Linked DNA regions of Homo sapiens: region 2 is linked to region 1. Evidence: promoter capture Hi-C in 16 types of primary human blood cells and fetal thymus (Javierre and others, 2016). All regions are on one chromosome and are shown on one strand. Each heading gives the region's core, a stretch centred on a gene start or on the middle of the fragment in contact. The rest is flanking DNA. Distances are from core to core; before and after follow the strand shown.

Region 1 (5,028 bases), core at 317-2,816:
ACTCAGGAGGAAAATATATTTGAAACAATTAAGTGAAAAATACTTAAACTTATCTAGAAATAACCGGAAAATGAAATGAGAGAATCAAGAAGCCATACTCTTTCTCATAGGTTGCTGGTCTTCTTACTTTCTCTGCACTAAACCTATGAAAAGCCTACTTTGAGGGGAAAATAACCGAAAGAAATGTCAAACGAAGTACAAGAACAAGCAATGAGTTATATTTTATGAAAGTGTACAAGATTTAACAGACACATATCACACACTATGAAAAAAGTTATGTAAACACAGACGGGGTTTTAATGAAACAGCATTCAGAAATTAATCTAGAAGCTTTATTAACACAGCAAATCTGTCCTACCAACTTAATCTGGTCATTCCTTTGAATATAACAGTTATGAAACAAGCATATTCTTCAGCAGGCTTCTCATAAAAAATTCCAGAGATTTTAAAGGAAAGCCTAAGAACTAGACTTTTCTCGTTAAAATGTGAGTTAAATTTAAAGATGTCGTATGGAATGTAGCAGCAATCAATACTGGGAAGCAAAATGTATATAGAAAAAATAAAAAATATATACACAGATTTAACGCAGACACTATCTAAATATCAACGACAGGCTCAAAATACTTTATAAGGATTATGTGTCAACATAAGCCTTTAACATTCGCTCTCTTAAAGCCAAAATGTTTTAAGATTTAGAACCAGAGAACAGGCAGTCTGACGGTCAAAGAGGGGAAATCATTTTTTTCCAGCATCTTCTAATGAAGTCTGTCTCTCACAATTATAAAAACTTTTGCAGGCTGGTCTAAACCGTGAGCTGCCTGGAGAAAGCAGAAGGGAGGTATCCTGAATGAAAGCCAAACCATCTCCATAAATTAATGTCTTCCCTTGACTAGAAAGCATTTCAGGGTAAAAAGCATGTACGAATTCCTCCGTAATATGAAAAGGGGTTGGAGGGCAGGGAATGAAATAGAGAGCGAGGGCACTAAAACATGTTTAGTTAACAGCGCTCAGAAGTCTCCACACAACCCGTATTCCCCTCCATCTCAATCAGACCAGGCTATTCTCTCCTCCTCCGAAGGTTTAGGGGTCAGAAAGAGATGTGGGGTCAAAGTGGCTTCCCCGACAGGTCCCCTCCCTAAGTTTCCCCTCGGCTGAGCCCAGATCTCCGCTCTGAACCGACCTAAGAGCTGGTCTAGGGCTGGGAGCCCGGTTGATACCAGCAGCTGTCCATTCCGCACCGACGGTCGCGTGCCCGCAATGGACACCAGTCGAGGGCCGCTGTCGTTGGTCACGCTGGCTCTAGGACCCCTCCTCTGGAAACTGGTGACGTTGCTCTTGCTGGCTGTCGCCACTGCAGACCCAGTACTCGCGGCAACACTACCGCAGGTTGCCACTGCCGCCATCTTAGAGCCTCCAGTGTTAACCCAATAGGAACTCTGGGAACGCAAACACCCGTCCTATCAGAACCAGTGCCAAACTCCCGCCTCCTCGCCCCAACCGCGGCTCTCGTAACCAATAGGACTGAGACGTCAGTCCCGAGCCAACCAATCGGAAGGCGTATTGCTGAAAAGTGCGCCCTACGAAAGGACGGTCGACTTCGGCGGGGCCCAGGTGAGAAAGGCCCACCTGTGTCCTGGTTGAGGGTCTCCAGGGTTCTTTGGGGCCCGAGGTAGGTAATATCACGTAACGTTCTTCTCCTTTTGAGTGCCTTCATTCACATTGAGTTAAAGAAAAGGTTGGTGAAACAATAAACCCTTAGGGCTTATCAAGCAATTGCTAGCACCTTTCTCCGCTGTGTGTGAGGATAGACTTTTTTCCTGCTCATTTATCTTCTGATTTCTGATAGAAAATTCACTCCGCCTTCCCCACGATGTCTTTTTCTTAATTTTGTGTTATATGGAAAGGATGGGATCTCTTACCTTAATGAGTTGGTTGCTGAGCGTCTGGGCTTAGTTCGTTAGTGCCTAGTGGTAGGTGGTTTGGAATTAAACCTTAGAGCGAAAACTCTTGAACTTTGAGGCTATCTGGTTTTCCTGTGTCTGACAAACTATAGCTCTCTGACAAGTTCCGATAAGAAGCTTTTGTTAATTTTAATTAGTGTTTCTGGAAGTCTTGGATGTCTTTCCTAAGCGGTGTAAATGACAAGTGTTACTCTGACAACCTTGTTCACACATTTAATTGTCGTTTGCTGTTAAAGCAGCTGCAAATAACAGAAAATACTTAGGGTTTCTTTCCCCCAAAAAACTGCTAGGAAGAATTAGAAGTATACCTACTTTATTTTATGAACCCTGAATCGAGAGTTTATTACTAAAATACCAATTTTATGTGTGGAAAAAACATGTATTTTGAGTTGTATTTTTGTATTTAATTTTTTTTTCAAAACTGAGCAGGGACAGTGGGTAACTGATGTTTAAAGGCAATCATGATTGACAAATGTCTAAATTGAAAAGGACTCCCAAATCATTACCGCACTACTGAGTTATTGACTTTGACAGTGATCTGTGATACCTTTTAATTAGAGCCAAACCTCATTGAAATTCTTGCCATCGAATTGTTTTAAATCTCACTGACCTGTTGAAATTTTTGGGCTGATTCTGTTTGATAAATTGAAATTAGTATTGCTAAATAGTGACTGGAGTTTTTCATTTGGGGAGGATTTTTGTTTGTTTGCTTGTTTTTTAGAATCATGTTTAGGAAAAAACCCTGTTTCACAATATATCAACTGGAAAGCTTTGATCAAGGTTGCTTTCATATTGAATCTTTAAGTTACTCAATAAATAGCTGTTGAGTGATTACTGTCTGTTTGGACTTAATCTTGTCATTTTAGACCTATGGTAATAAAAATGGTCTCACCTGGAGGAGATAAAATTAACACATAGAAAACAACATAGTACTTAAAATGAACACATTAAATAGCATGTGCTAATTTTATCCTGTAGTAAATAAGCACTAGGAAGACCAAAAGAAAAAGTGACAAAGCAGTCCAATATCAGATAGAAACGTCTTGAATTTTTTTTTTCTTCAACTTTTGTTTTAGGTTCTGGGCTTCATGTGCAGGTTTGTTACATAGGTAAACGTGTGCTGTGGTGGTTTGCTGCACAGATCAACCCACCACCTCGGTATTAAGCCCAGCATCCATTAGCTATTCTTCCTGATGCTCTCTGTCCCCCCACCCCTACAAATATTTTTGATGCTGTGAACTTTTTGAAATGCTACATATAATTATTATTTTTTGACAGATGGCATTGTTTTGTGTACCTCATGATGCTATGAAGTGTATGTACATTCCGGAATCGTTAAATCTAGCTAATTAGCAATGCATTACCTCACATAGTTATCATTTTTGTGGTAAGAGTACATAACATCTACACTGTTTACATTTTTTTAAAGAATACAATATATGATTATTAACTATAGTCAGCTTGCTATAAATTCATGTTATATAATAGATTTCTTGAAATTTATTCCTCCTATCTAACTGATATTATGTATCTTTGACCAAATTCTCCCCATCCCCCCTGCCAACCATCCTGGCCTCTGGTAAACACCATTGTACTCTCTGTGCGATGAACTATTAGATTCCACCTATGAGTAAGATCATGTGATATTTGTCTTTCTGTGTCTGACTTATTTCACTTAACATAATGGTATAATTCGTTTTTATAGGCTTCTGTATTACATATTCCCTTGTTTCCTACTGTATTTACTTAACCCTTTAGATTTCCCAAGATGATGATAGTGGTGCTTTGTTTGCCTCATTACTAGAACTGAAGAATTATTTTCCAACTTTGACTTGGACTATAATTCTGGAAAGATGATCTATATACACACCAGAGTATTCATGAAATTAGGATATATATCTGGTATAACACTATCGTAGGATAAATATGCTTTTGTTTTTTTTTTCTGAGACGGAGTCTAGGTGTGTTCCCCGGGCTGGAGTGCAGTGGCGCGATCTCGGCTCACTGCAAGCTGTGCCTTCCTGGGTTCACACCATTCTCCTGCCTCAGCCTCCCGAGTAGCTGGGACTACAGGCGCCCGTCACCACGCCCTGCTGATTTTTTGTATTTTTAGTAGAGATGGGGTTTCACCGTGTTAGCCAGGATGGTCTCAGTCTCCTGACCTCGTGATCCGCCCACCTCGGCCTCCCAAAGTGCTGGAATTACAGGTGTGAGCCAGCGCGTCAGCCAAATATGGGTTTTTTGTTTGTTTGTTTTTTGTTTTCTTTTTAGACGGAGTCTCGCTCTGTTGCCAGGCTGGAGTGCAGTGGCATGATCTCGGCTTACTGCAACCTCCGCCTCCTGGGTTCAAATGATCCTCCTGCCTCAGCCTCCTGAGTAGTTGGGACTACAGGCATGCACCACCATGCCCAGCTAATTTATGTATTTTGAGTAGAGACAGGCTTTCACCATGTTGGCCAGGATGGTCTCAATCTCTTGACCTTGTGATCCACCCGCCTCGGCTTCCCAAAGTGTTGAGATTACAGGTGTGAGCCACCGCGCCCAGCCGCCTTTTTTTTTTTTTTTTTTAACAAAGATAAAATCTTTGCTCCCAAATAATTTCAAATTCTTGAACTTACCAGCAAGTAGCAGAGTTGAATATAAAACACGAGAATAAATAAAGTATTCATGGAAAGGAAGAGTTAAAAGTTATATGTTGGCTGGGCACAGTGACTCATGCGTGTAATTCCAGCACTATGGGAGGACGAGGCGTGCAGATCACAAGGTCAGAAGATCGAGACCTTCCTGGCTAACATGGTGAAACCCCGTCTCTACTAAAAAATACAAAAAAATTAGCTGGGCATGGTGGCGGGCTTCTGTGGTCCCAGCTGCTCAGGAGGCTGAGGCAGGAGAATGGGGTGAACCCGGGAGGCAGAGCTTGCAGTGAGCCGAGATTGCGCCACTGCACTCCAGGCCTGGGCGACACAGCGAGACTGTGTCTCAAAAAAAAAAAAAAAAAAAGTTATATGTTTAGGTGCGTTCTTAATTAATTCTTTATGAAGGACATACTAAATTCTAGGAAGTGCAC
Region 2 (5,028 bases), core at 1,016-3,515, 1.1 Mb before region 1:
GTTTTTGGCAGGAGTGCAAGCAAGGAGAAGTCAGAAAAGCTGCAAGTTACTTTGAGGCAATCATCCAAATGCATTAGAGGAACTGTAAAAATCTGCCACAGAGGAATGATGATCCACAGTCAGAAAAGTTACTGCAGCTTAAACAGGAAAGCCTTCTTGTTCAGGACTGTCATAGCTACAGGTTGCAAAAAGTGCACTATTGATTAATGCAGTGTAGTGTCAATTAGATGTACATTCCTGAGGTCTTTTATCTGTTGTACCTTTGCCTTTTTCTTTTCATTACATCAGGCATGTTACCCTGTAAATTATGGTAGTGTAGTGGTACCAGGAATAAAAAACTAAGGAATTTTTAACTTTGCAATAAAAATTAAAATTAAAAAGTATAATGACTTAACTATAAAAATTCAAAGAAAAACTTTTAAAAAACCACATCTTACTCATTAGTTATCTTGTGCCACACTGTAAGCACAGGTGCAAGTCATTTTCCAGTTTTAGCAACTACAGTATACTTCAACCTTCTCAGCTAAAGAAATCTTTTTAATCCACTTGAAGCACACAGCATGGTGTCTGACATGTAAGGGCTTAGTTACCAGTAACACCCTTTAAAATGCACAACAGGCCTGGTGCGGTGGCTCACGCCTGTAATCCCAGCACTTTGGGAGGCGGAGGCGGGAGGATCACAGGGTCAGGAGATCAAGACCATCCTGACTAACACGGTGAAATTCTGTCTCTACTAAAAATACAAAAAATTAGCCGGGCGTGGCGGCGGCAACTGTGGTCCCAGCTGCTCAGGAGGCTGAGGCAGGAGAATGGCATGAACCCGGGAGGTGGAGCTCGCAGTGAGCTGAGATTGCGCCACTGCACTCCAGCCTGGGCGACAGAGCAAGACTCCATCTCAAATAAAAAAAAAAAAGCACAACAAACACCATGTGCATCAACCACCAATATAAATAAAGTCATGAAGGGGGCACCCATAAACTTGAAGCATTTTTACTTAACTGCTAGGTAAAATCTCAGAATTTTACTGATTAAAATATGTATTTTATGTGTTCTAAAGAAGAAAACCAACTCTCAACATTTAGATTGGCAGAATGTCAGAAATGTCGTGTTTAAACAAGTATCCCCTTCCAGTTCCCTACTGTGGGTAGCATTTATCCACTCAGTGCCCAATAAGTGCTATCTTCTTGGGAATGCAATGGTTTACAGATGAGGTTCCTTGCCTTCACTTAGCCTACAACCTTACTTTCAACTAAGGGTGTTAAATGCTAGGATACAAGTAGAGGGTGCTGTAAAAGGGAGGCACTAACCGAAATATGAGAGGGGTGTTTCTGGCAGAGACATGAAGCTGACTATAGTAAGACTACTTAGACAAGGGGTAGGCAAACGTTCTATAAAGGGCCAGAGAGTAAATATTTTAAGCTTTGCAAGCTATATGGTATCTGTTGTAACTAAACTCTTGGCAAAAGCAGGCACAGACAATATGTAAATGAATAGGCATGGATGTAATACCAATGTTATGGACCCTGAAATCTGAATTTCATATAATGTCCACATATCATGAAATATTACCCTTTCTTTGATTTTCTTTCTCAATCATTTAAAAATGTTAAAACCATTCTTAGTACACGGGCTATAGAAGAACCAGTGCCAGCTCCTGGTCCAGACTGGCAAAGAGCATGGTGCTTTTATACCTGACATAGGCTCGCTGGGTCTAGAGTGTGATAAGCAAGAGGAAGGACATGGGTGGAGAGATGGAATATTTACATTAACACAAAGTTTTTTGTAGTCTGCCACTGCACCATCCAAAAATGATGAGATGCTTCACCACATTCACCAAGCTCATGCTACAGCAGTAGGTTGAAGCCCATGTTGGAAAGGCCCCACCTTTCTTTTTTTAGAAAAAAAGCCAAATTTCACTTTTTAAAAAGTTCAAAGATGAGGGAAAACTACTTTTAATCTTTATAGTTATCTTTAACTTTAGGTCAAATTTATAGAAATAGATTTATAGCAACTCTGTGGAGAACAGAGTAAAGCAAAATTACTGGCCCTACTTCTCTTTAAAAAACATCCCCACCTACTTATACTGTCTGTTAAGTGATATGTTAGTTCATTACTTTTGAATACCTCTTCTTACAATCCACAAGTGCCTCATAAAGTAGTCTTAAAAGGGTGTGCTTTTTTTCAGTGGTGAGATTCCAGTCAGAAATCCATTTTCTAACCTACAAGAGATTGACAAAAGGAGAAAACTGAGTAACACATATAAAGTATAACATATAAAAGTACATTTCTGGCTGGGCGTGGTGGCTCACGCCTATAATCCCCAGCACTTTGGGAGGCCAAGGCAGGAGGATCAACTGAAGTCGGGAGTTCGAGACCAGCCTGACCAACATAGAGAAACCCCGTCTCTACTAAAAATACAACATTAGCCGGGCGTGGTGGCGCATGCCTGTAATCCCAGCTGCTCAGGAGGCAGAGGAAGGAGAACTGCTTGAACCCTGGAGGCGGAGGTTGCGGTGAGCTGAGATTGCGCCATTGCACTCCAGCCTGGGCAACAACAGTGAAACTCCGTCTCAAAAAAAAAAAAAGTACATTTCTTATAAGCAGAACAACTATTCCACACAGTAACTCACTTGATCCAGCTCAGTTGGGATGTACTGGATGGCCCCACAAGATGCTGCCACTTTAATAAGGCTGCAATACACTGTGTATCTTACAGGAGTATTCTTATCCATCCCGTGGAAAAGGTTGCTTAACCTGGTTGGTTAACAAACAAATAAACAATGTTTGAAATCAGCAACCAGTTTTAAGTTGAGGTTAGCTCTCACCACAAACCTGTGGCAGGTACCGTTAACAACTTCATATTACAAAGGAGGAAACTAGGGCACAGAAAGGTCAAGCCACTTGCCCAAGGTCACAGCTAATATGAGCCACAGCTGAGAGTCAAGTTCCAGAATTCCTGCTCTGCACCATTAAAAGTTAGTAACATGAAAAAAGCACCTAGAAAAACTGAGTTTCTTTCAGATCTTAACTTACAACTGCAGTCTCAGAGACGGGCGTTCACCTTCGCGAAATTTGACCAGCTTTTCACATAGGCTTTCAATCAAAGCTTCTTGCTTGTCTGGTTCCAGGATCAAGAGTAGGGATACCACACTGTTCATCACACTTTCAACATCTACACAAGTATGGATAACACAATCAACAGTGATACTACAATACTCAATGCGTCTAGTTAAATATGCATTTCCAGTGTTTTAATACAATGAAGACCATCAAATGTAAGACACTTTCGCATTCAGAAAGCAACTTGTATATTTTATTAAAGAGGAAGGAAATTGATACCTAAGATGTGGTTTCTTTTTTTTTTTTTTTTTTTTTTTCAGATGAAGTCTTGCTCTCTTGCCCAGGCTGGGGTGCAGTGGTGCGATCTCGGCTCACTGCAACCTCCGCCTCCCAGGTTCAAGCGATTCTCCCGTCTCAGCCTCCCAAGTAGCTGGGACTACAGGCACCCGCCACCACGCCCGGCTAATTTTTGTATTTTTAGTAGAGACGGGGTTTCACCATATTGGCCAGGCTGGTCTTGAACTCTTGACCATGTGATCCACCTGCCTCGGCCTCCCAAAGTGCTGGGATTACAGGCGTGAGCCACTATGCCTGGCCTATGATGTGGTTTCTAACTAGTAAAACAGAGACTGATTTACATGTATATAAAGTTTCAATTTTCACTGTCATGATATTCAATCATTTGGAAGTTACTGGTATGATTTAGGACTAGGATACTTTCTTAATTAAGGAAAACTTTGTGTATACATATAGGAAATCAGAAATTAAAGCTGTCAGCTCTCTGCTTGAATTAGTTATTTTTAAGTATTACAGATATTAATCATATCCCAAATTTAATCTAATTTTTTTGTATATGTGCTGCCGAAATCAGCATCCAAGTTTGATCTCTAAACCTTAACTAGAGATTTCCGAACTCAACAATTCTGAAAATTTCCCATTCTATCTCAATAAACAGGAAACTGGCCTAATAATTAAATGGCTATTAGATTACTTGAAACTGTATCCCATTTGATGTTAATCTGAAACTTATGAACAGGAAAGAGCTTCATTTTTTTCATTTTATTCTAAGACTATAAGCATTTAGTGTAATAACACTTAAGAAATACACCTATGTATAAAATAAAGGTTTTCTCAAAATAGGTTTACTTTATAGGTATAATAGATTACACAAACTGAAAGCATGTGTGAAGGTAAGATTGAAAACAACAGTGCTTAGACTCTGGTTAACAATGTATTGTATAGTTGAAAGAGCTAGAAGAGAACTGTTGAATGTTTCCAACATAAAGAAAAGATGTGTGATATTCCAATTACCCTGATTTGATAATTACACATTGCATACATGTATCAAAATATCACCTGTGCCCCCAAAATACATACAACCACTACCTATCTATTTAAAAGTCCTGTAGTCTGAAATTCAAAACATATAAATACAGTCAGCCTTCTGTATCTGAGGGTTCCAAATCCTCCTTGCCTCAGATAATGAGGGACGACTCTATAATTCACAAGAAAAATTTAAAAGATTTTATTAGGAAATATTAGAAAAAAATTAAAAACAAACCTTTATCATCCTCCTTCAGACACACATCACAGGCTTCAATAATTTGAGCTAAATCAACATGAAGTCCACCTTCCGAGTTCTCTTCTGAAATCTCAGCTCCTTTAGATTTCAGATAAGCACGAAGCTCAGCAGCCTGTTGAGGATTGCTCTATTATAAAACTGACTACGAATGACAAAGCACAATCTCAAATTCTGTCCTCTTTCTGAAAAACTAAAACGGAAATACTGTATTCAACAACTATTTCAAATAATGTTGAAGACCCCTCCCTCACCTCATCCATCTTGGCAATCCCACAAGAGCCACAGGTTTTCCTCCATGAGGTCCAGTGGCTCCTTAGACACACTACAGCCCCCATGGATCACCTTCAGAATTTCTCTCATGTAGTCTGCACCCTGCTGGACTTCCA

Evidence for each region. The method cuts DNA at HindIII sites, captures the fragments that hold promoters and counts their contacts. A CHiCAGO score of 5 or more calls a contact.
Region 2: a contact is called between a fragment that was not itself captured here and the fragment with the promoter of IMMP1L in region 1, in 7 of 17 cell types (fetal thymus, naive CD4 T cells, total B cells and 4 more). The highest score is 7.8, in fetal thymus.

What each region holds. Positions count from the first base shown.
Region 1 is chr11:31,506,160-31,511,187 of GRCh38, reverse strand. IMMP1L (inner mitochondrial membrane peptidase subunit 1) reads left to right here and starts at 1,566. Exons shown (of 6, transcript NM_001304274.2): 1 at 1,566-1,669. It overlaps ELP4 (elongator acetyltransferase complex subunit 4), which reads right to left and starts at 1,421. Exons shown (of 10, transcript NM_019040.5): 1 at 1,181-1,421. The coding sequence starts at 1,403. RefSeq lists enhancers at 1,117-1,406, 539-1,428. The HindIII fragment of the contact is 1,748 bases long and covers 333-2,080 here.
Region 2 is chr11:32,586,738-32,591,765 of GRCh38, reverse strand. It overlaps EIF3M (eukaryotic translation initiation factor 3 subunit M), which reads right to left. Exons shown (of 11, transcript NM_006360.6): 2 at 4,622-4,754; 3 at 3,034-3,172; 4 at 2,631-2,754; 5 at 2,125-2,219. Among named protein-coding and RNA genes, the nearest start is that of EIF3M, 5.4 kb to the right of the region's middle. RefSeq lists a silencer at 4,960-5,028. The HindIII fragment of the contact is 1,687 bases long and covers 1,422-3,108 here.